2 separate regions of the Homo sapiens genome follow, and region 2 is linked to region 1. Evidence: promoter capture Hi-C in human tissues and cell types (Jung and others, 2019). All regions are on one chromosome and are shown on one strand. The core of a region is centred on a gene start or on the middle of the fragment in contact, and the rest is flanking DNA. Distances in the headings are between cores, read along the strand shown.

The links. Contacts are between HindIII fragments. The study calls those that stand out against the background at their distance.
Region 2: a fragment that was not itself captured here is called in contact with the fragment with the promoter of MEDAG in region 1 in 1 of the 25 tissues and cell types used here (lymphoblastoid cells).

Annotation. Positions count from the first base shown.
Region 1 is chr13:30,904,604-30,908,711 of GRCh38, forward strand. MEDAG (mesenteric estrogen dependent adipogenesis) reads left to right here and starts at 1,668. Exons shown (of 5, transcript NM_032849.4): 1 at 1,668-2,190. The coding sequence starts at 1,913. All of the region lies in intron 2 of TEX26-AS1 (TEX26 antisense RNA 1), which reads right to left. RefSeq lists an enhancer at 2,269-2,770. The HindIII fragment of the contact is 12,319 bases long and covers 1-4,108 here.
Region 2 is chr13:29,865,113-29,869,220 of GRCh38, forward strand. It overlaps the pseudogene TIMM8BP1. Among named protein-coding and RNA genes, the nearest start is that of UBL3, 17 kb to the left of the region's middle. The HindIII fragment of the contact is 4,331 bases long and covers 106-4,108 here.

The sequences.
Region 1 (4,108 bases), core at 418-2,917:
CTCTCCCATCTCCTTATTGCTGCTGCTCCTTCCCCTGGGAGCCTCCCCTGTGTATTGGAAGTCTAGCCATGTGTCACCTCCTTTGAGCACCCTTCTTGGGGCAGAACCACTTATTTCTCATAGTGCTTAGTCCATACATCTATGGTAGCACTTATTGGATCCTTGTGTGTGTGTGTGTGTGACCTCAGAGCTTAAGATGGTCCCTGGTGCATAGTGATGACTCTGTCAATGTTTGGGACAAGAGTGAAGTTCTAAATAGGGCACAATGGATTTAACTGCTGGCACCAAATCCCTCCCCTGTGAAAACAGCCCCAGCCTCTGAGTCCTGTCTACAGTCTCAGCCCACCCCAGACCCATTCTCTTTGCAGGGATCCTCAAACCTCCCTTTGCAAGAAGATCTTCTGGATGCTTTTTTCACAGGTAGAGCATCCTTCCTGCGCCACAAAAGGTTGAGTGGGTAGTGATCAATTCATGCTCAGTGAATTAGATTTGTTCAGAGAGGCCCAGAGATGGGGTAATGATCCCATGGGTAAAAGATCCATGTCTGGAGAAAGGATAGGTGTGCACCTAGAAGAAGAGAAGAGAGTGGGGCTCATTTATATTCTGAGATTTAAATGAGATGTGGCGGGAGGACTCTTCATCCCATCTGATTAAACCTACACAAGAGTTCATGTGGGGGCACACAAAGACTAACTAAGGATATTCTCTACGTTCTACTCAACTTTTGGGATGTAGCTTAGAATCCTAAAACACAGTACTACAGAAAGCCTCGAAACTAGGCTAGATTCTCCTCCCATCCCATCCAGGCTTCTCCGCAGCAGAAATAGGTGTTTAATTAAATGGAATAATATAGTTCTCCTTTCATACCTCAGGAGATCAATGAGCCCATAGCTAGCACTCACATATTTATAGACTGAAGAAATGAACATATTCTGGGGCTCAAGGAGATCACCACCTACTGGGGAGGCAGGGGAGAAGGGAGGATGCTAGGACCCTGCTATCCCCACTACACGGCACATTGCAGTCTAGGGTTCACCGTGCAGTAGAAAGGAGAAGCAAAGCGATGAAACCCTCGTGGGATTCGTGAAGGCTTTATGGAAAAGCGATGTGATGATCAGTGGGATTTCTAGGGGGAAGGGATCCAGGGCCAGCAACCAGCTGAAGGAAAGGCTGAAAGGAGGGAAATGCAGGGTACGATCTGGATGGAGTTAAAATGGCAGAAAACTGAGGCTGAGTGAGAGGTCTGGTACTGAGGTGGGGATCGGAGTTCCAGCACTGGCCTTTGACAGCCTCTGGGTCCCAGGTGGAATGGGTAGGGCCAGAGCCCTTGCCTTCTTCTCCAATCAACACCAGGGGTGTGGTGTCTTAGGCAAGGATGGGTGCTGTGCGCCCTGCCGCCCACCATAGGCAGGGCCTGGGAACCCGGGGAGGACTCTCCCCACCTCCAGCCTCCGGCAGTGTCCGCCAGGCAGGGCGGGGGCCAGCGCTGGTGTTGAGTAGTGGACCCCAGGGGGATGACTAAGCCTTGCCTGCGAGCAGACTCGAGCATGCCAAGTTATGAGACGATGATAACTCTGCCCCGAGCCTCTGGGGTCGTGGCCGTGGGCCGGCAGGGGCGAGGCGGGCGTCCAGAGGGCGGATAAAAGGGGCCGCGCTGCGCCGGGGCCGCTTTCTCCGCGCGGTGCCTGCAGGGCTCCCAGCGAGTGGCAGCTTGGGAGGGGCCGCCCGGGCGGTCAGACTGGCACCTGAGCGGCCACCGCGTCCCGGCCAGGCGGGCAGACCGACCCCCTCCTCACCTCGCGCGCGGCTGACGCAGGCAGGGCGCCCGGCCCCTCCTGGGGACCATCAGGTGCCGGCTGGGGGCTGTAGGCACCGGACGGAAGCAGGCGGTGTGAGGACCGACGACGCGGGCATGGCGGGGGCGGCCTGCGAGCCGGTGGCCAGGCCGAGCCTGACCTCCATCTCGTCTGGGGAGCTTCGCAGCCTGTGGACCTGCGACTGCGAGCTGGCCCTGCTGCCGCTGGCTCAGCTGCTGCGCCTGCAGCCCGGTGCCTTCCAGCTGAGCGGCGACCAGCTCGTGGTGGCCAGGCCCGGGGAGCCGGCGGCGGCGCGGGGGGGCTTCAACGTCTTCGGTGACGGCCTCGTGCGCCTCGACGGGCAGCTCTACCGCCTCAGCAGCTACATCAAGAGGTGGGTGGCCTCGCCGTGCGCCCTGGCCCGTCGCCTGGTACCCGCAGACGCCTCCACCCGGCTGCGGTCTCTGGGAGCCTGGGCTGTCCTCGCTGCCTGCGACACCGCGTGGCCCCTTGCTCCGTGCGCTTCTAGACTTTCCTTCTGCTTCTATCACCCGGAGCCTGCACGCTCGCCCTGGTTCTTCTGCCTCTTGCACTGACATTTTGCAGCTGCTGCTTGAAGCCGCCCAGAAGGGCATCAGGACTGGGGGCGAGGGGGAGGGCAGGGGCCCCCCAGCCAGAGCTCATGAGTGGCAGATGCTTCTCCCATTCTGGCTCCTTAACTGGGTCAGATGAGCTCAAATTGGGAGCACACCCTTTAGGGGCTGTCTGCAGCTCTGCAAGACTCACATCCTGGCTTTGGAGCATGGGTGGCGGTGAGGAGCAGGGGGCATGCACCATTCTGAGCACTGCCAGCCCTCTCCAGTGAGGAGACCGAGTGGAGAAGCATGCAAAAGCTCAAAGTTTCCCATCTCTGGCCTCACTTCGTGTTTCAAAAGTAAACAAATAAACCGCAGCTGAGAAGGGAACAAAGCCCCTGGAAGTCCAGCCCGGGGCCATGTGGGCTGTGGAAGGCACAGATAAGTTCTGGGGAAATAAGTGCGAAACCTGAGGGCCTTAATGGGAAGGAGGCCCCCAGGATGCTTGACTGTTGTGGCCAGAGTGCCCCCAAGCTCTTCTTGGCAGACCGGCAGGATGTGGCCCAGCCATCTGAAGCAGGCTTTGGTGCCACAGGGTAAAGGAGGGCACTTCAGGCCTGATTCCACATGGCCTCAGGCCTCCAGAGTTCACTCTTGGCAAGGGCCTGGAGTGCAAAGACCTGTTATATTTGTGCTGAGAGAGCCAAGTGCCTGAAGAGGCAAGCATGGTCTAGAGTTTGACTCAGAAATGAATAAGATAGCCAGCTTTTGAGACACAGCGCCTTTGCTACTGGGAAAGACAGCGTGCTGTGGCACCCTGTGGGTAGGAGGGAGCCAAGAGAGGGAAGCAAACAAAATGAGATATTGAACGTGCAGTCTTCAAAACTCTTGGAGAAAAAACCTTGCTTTTCCAAAGATAGTGAGGGCTCTGAATGCCTGAAGAACCATTCCCCAGCAAGAATTTCTCCCTTTCTTAGTGAAATGAAAATTCCAATTCCAAACCATAAGCGGAGGACTGTGGGAGGAACTGAGTCAGATGTGTGCAGATTTAAAAAGAAGATACCCATTGTATTTGAGAGCAGGGTATGAAAAATAAAAATGTCCAGAATGAACGAAGCCGTAAGTTAGGGTTTTGACAGAACCAGTTCTCCTAATTGTAGCAAACAGTGCTGCAGAATCTGAAATGATTTTGAAGTCTGTCATCTAACTTTTGCTTTGAACACCTCCTACACAAAAGAAAATTAAACAACAGTGATTCCCCTGACAGCTTTGAATCTAGAATAAACAACTGGGCCACAGTGACCAGGTAACACAGACCAGGGTGCAAATACAAAACAACAAATAATAGGCTATCATTGTATAAGCAATACTGTGAGGGCTTCTTTTGTACCTGGGAAATAGCAAGGAGCCTCTGAAAATAATTTGGGTGATGGAAGGAGCTATCTATTGTCCTCAGGCAGGGAAGGAGGCTTTTATAACTGAGTGTGCAGTCCTGAAGGATGGCCAGGAGGGAATGTGGTCTAAATGGAGACAGCCTTCCAGGCAGAGGGGGAGGACTGGACTGTGGGCAGCAGTGAGAGGTTCTGCCCTCGGGAATCAGGAGGTGGGAGGTATGCCGAAGCCAGAACTCAGATATCTAAAGCTTCGTTCCTCTGAGCTGCCAAATTTGCCAGTTGTTTTTGGCTTTAGAGATAGCATAAAACCTCCCTCCCTCCCCTCCCTCCCTCCCCACTTCCT
Region 2 (4,108 bases), core at 1,021-3,520, 1.0 Mb before region 1:
CACTTTAGCAGAGACCCGAATGAAAAGAAGCAGCTCACCAAGTGAAGTGCTAGGGGCAGAAGTTTCCAGGTATTCTTCACTTAAAGGAAGTGTCATGCATAAACATCTAAGGTTCTAACCTTACCTGCACATCATCAGGGTTCAGCTTGTAGTAGTTGCTCAATAAATGCTATGAATTGGATTGTTCAGCTGAAGAAACTAGGAAGGCTCTGGACCTGTGCTTTTTATCTCTTAGGACTCTCCTAACATCCGCCTGTTGGGGAAATACCACTACTTTACAAGATTCCTTGGATTGTCTTGGGTAAGCAAAGAAAATAGAGTCAGGCAGGAATTGCTATGTTCTGAATTACAAACACAGCCTGCCTCCAGCTCCTGGGTATGCCCAGTTCTGACATTTTCAAAGTTATCTGGAGATTTGGAGAGGAATTTATCATCTTGTCTTTGTGGGTAGGTTTTTCATGAAATGTTCGTCTGTATATCTCCTGCTGTTATTTTCTCTATTGTCACAATTCCATCCTTGATCTTATATCCAAGTGACCTTACAGTGGAACTAGAAGTACTTCAGTGAGACCAGGATTTCATGGAAAAGACAGTGACACTGCAGTTTTATTAATTTTTTTGAGAATTCACATTTATTGAATTACTGATGTGCTACAACATGGAATTTCTGAATTCCAAATAAATAAATTTCACTTTTTAAACATTTGTTCTGTTACTTTTTAACACCAACAAACTTGATAGCAGCCAGCTGCTGACCTGACAATGGGTTGACAACCTTCCCCCACTGGCTCTTCAGTCTGCTTAATCAGAAGTCCTTTGCTGCTTCTCATCCTCCCAGGGGATGGCCTACTGCCCTCCTTTCTGTACAATCTGGGCAAGCCGACTGGGATGGTAAGAGTGGTGTCAATGAAGCGGTCCACAGAGCTAGAGAGGCAATTTTCAGTGTGAGAGTCTAGGCATTTCCCTGGCTTCTCCACACATCCATCCCAGAACAGCTCCAGGAAGCGACACACCTGTGCTGCAACCCTGCTTCAACCACCTCGCCCAGCACTGTCATTGTCCACGTGAGTCTCAGGACCTCTCATTTTTCTTAAAGCCCCAGGAGCACATTTCACAATTTTATTTCACTGAATGCGTGTCCTGATATATTTAAACAGAATTGAAATAATAAACCCCCTGATTTAGTTTGAAAATTAAAACATGCATAGGTCCTAAACCAGCTTCAGTTGAGAAAAAAGTTACTTTCTACTCATAGAAAATCCAACATGAGAGATTTCCCTAAAACACTTTATTTTGCAACTACTTCAAAACATTGCAGCAATTTGAACAAAGATGTACTGGGTGATGCTCATGTTGTGCACAATGCTAGTCTGAAGATTTGAATTGTTAACTCCAGCAATTTCCATGACCAATTGGAATCTCTATTATTGATAATCAAAGTTGTCGTTTCCCTGAATCCTAGGGAGCTCAGGGCACTTGAATCCAAAAACGTCTGGGTGCTATGTAGAATACAATCAAACATTAACGGAAGGGAAGTGGGAGAGAGAGAAGCAGTATACTCATAGACAAAGTTTGCAAAAGGGTGAGCTAATAGAAAAGCAGCAGCAACAAGCACAGAGGCCATGCCTTGGGCAAGAGGCAGGAGAGGGTGTCCATACGGTGTTCTGCTTCTCTTTAGGGGAGCCCAGGGCAGGTGTTGTTGAACTTTCCCACCCTCATAGCTCTCAACTCTTGCATTTGTTTATTATGCCTGATCTGTTTAGTTACCTTGTCCAAAGGGAATTGCACCAATTACAAGGGCATGGAAATGAATGGATTGGTGGAGCTCTTTTCCTTGCAATTTTTCATACTGCATGGGGTTTTCATCAGGCAGCAGAAGGGGAAAGAACATGGAATAGTCCCCACGAACCTCCCTGGGCTCTACCACACATCTGCTGTGTTGAGGATGTAGAAGGTGAGGACGAGCCAAAAACAAACAAAAACAAAAACAAAAGGAGAATAGAAAGAAAAAGGAGCAGAAGCAGAAGGAAAATTGGATGGCACTGACAGTCCCCAGGTGACTTCCATGTGTCAGGCACAAGTAAAAAGGACTTGTGAAGCACCAGATTTATTTATTAAAGTATAAATACTTCAGTTCACCTAATCGCTACAACAACCCGTTGAAATGCCCATTTTTACAGGTGAATAAAAGAGACTCAGAAGCTAAATAACTTTCTTGTGGTCACTGGGATTCATACTCATGCCTGTTTAACTCTAAGGATTAAAGAGAAGGGGAGGGGATGATCAGAAAAGGTACCATGTGGCAATTTGCACTAACTCACTAACACAGAGTTAAGACGTCAGAAGAACAGGAGCTTCACTCTCCTTAGCTCATGCATATTCACTTTTCTTCCATAAACATAAAAAAAAGGTAAGCAGCTTCAGGGACCCAGAAGTAAATTATTGGTTTAATAAAATGCTGGCCTTTGGGTTTACTTTCTTTTAAAGACACAGTTTATCCGTCAAATTCCACTCTCGGTTTGTCTTATTCCAGGAAGGGTGTTCCTCCCTTCTGCACAAATGTGATTACAGGCAACTCTGCATTGGAAAGTAGTAAAAAAAAAAATGTGAAATCAAATTTTACCATTTATTTAAAAACTAACCACACCGCTAACATTTATTAGTGTATAACAATGGCAAGTTTAAACACACCTCCTGACACTGTAAAATGCTTGGAGGCCTGGACAGATCTACTGACTTTTTATCCTTTTTTTTCTTGCCAGCTCTGTCCTGTTTGGATGCAAGCAAGTGGCCCAAAGCCCTTTCTGTTTTTAAGAGTTTAGGGCCAGGCACAGTGGCTCATGTCTGTAATCCTAGCCCTTTGGGAGGCCAAGGCAGGCAGATGGCTTGAGTCCAGGAGTCCGAGACTAGCCTCGGATACGTGGCGAAACCCTGTCTCTACAAAAAACACAAACATTAGCCAGGCGTGGTGGCATGCACCTGCAGGCCCATCTACTTGGGAGGCGGAGGCAAGAGGATCGCTTAAGCCCAGGAGGCAGAGGTTTCAGTGAGCCAAGATTGCACCACTGCACTCCAGCCTGGGTGGTAGAGTAAAACCCCGTCTCAAAACAACAACAATGAAAACAGTGTTCTAAAAATTAAAGATGTGCCGGTCAGATTTTAAATTCAAATTTTCTTCCAGGTGCCTATTGAGGAAAATGAAGGATGATTTTGTTGGAAGCCTGAGTTGATTTCACCCTCTACCTGGTGATTCTTCTGGACTTACATTGCATGGTAATTAAATTAACATAGTTTACTCTAAATCAGGTTATTCCTTTGGAATATGCCAAATAATGGTCATGAAGATATCTGGGAAACGTTTTGTTGTTATTGTTGGTGGTGTTCATCTTTTCACAAATTTAAACTCCAATTATATTTGAGTATGTGGATGCTCTTCACACAAGCCTGTGCTAGTTTGTTCCAGGTCTTGTGGTAGTAGAATGTGTGAAGGCTCAAGTTTACAAACAAATTGTATTAGTGATGATTCTTATGAGGTCAAGGATGAAATTAAAATTCTTAATTACAAATCATCGGCACCTCCATTGTCAGGGGCGTGCTGGGATTCTCTGAACAGCTGCGTAATGATCCTCTGTGCTTCAGTGGCGTTGGCATGCCTTTGAGCTTGTTCCCTATTCACCTTTTATTTATAGCACCACGAGCGTGTTTATTTTCATTCTTATAAAAACTTGATTTGCTGACTGCAAGATATGACAAAGCTTTCATATCAAGGACAGAGACCTGTGATTTTTGGAACAGATTGTCTTTTATGGGATGATTCACCATGGACTCTTTAGTTAAAGCGATGGGCTCCTTTGTTTTTAGCTCTTTTTTTTTTTTCTTTTTAGTTTTTTAAAAATTTGTTTATTGGTTGGCGTTAGCCTTTGTTTTTAGCTCAACTAACCCGACTAGCTGTGGATCTTGAATTCGCTTTACCTGCATAGACAACTGAGGGAAAGCATGTTTCTGGATGTAGGGTGACGTTTTTAGTTTTTGATTAGCTGACATATTCTGGTGGCCCAAAGAATCACAGGATTGTAGAGTGGCAAAGCCCTTGAAAGTTAACCCACTC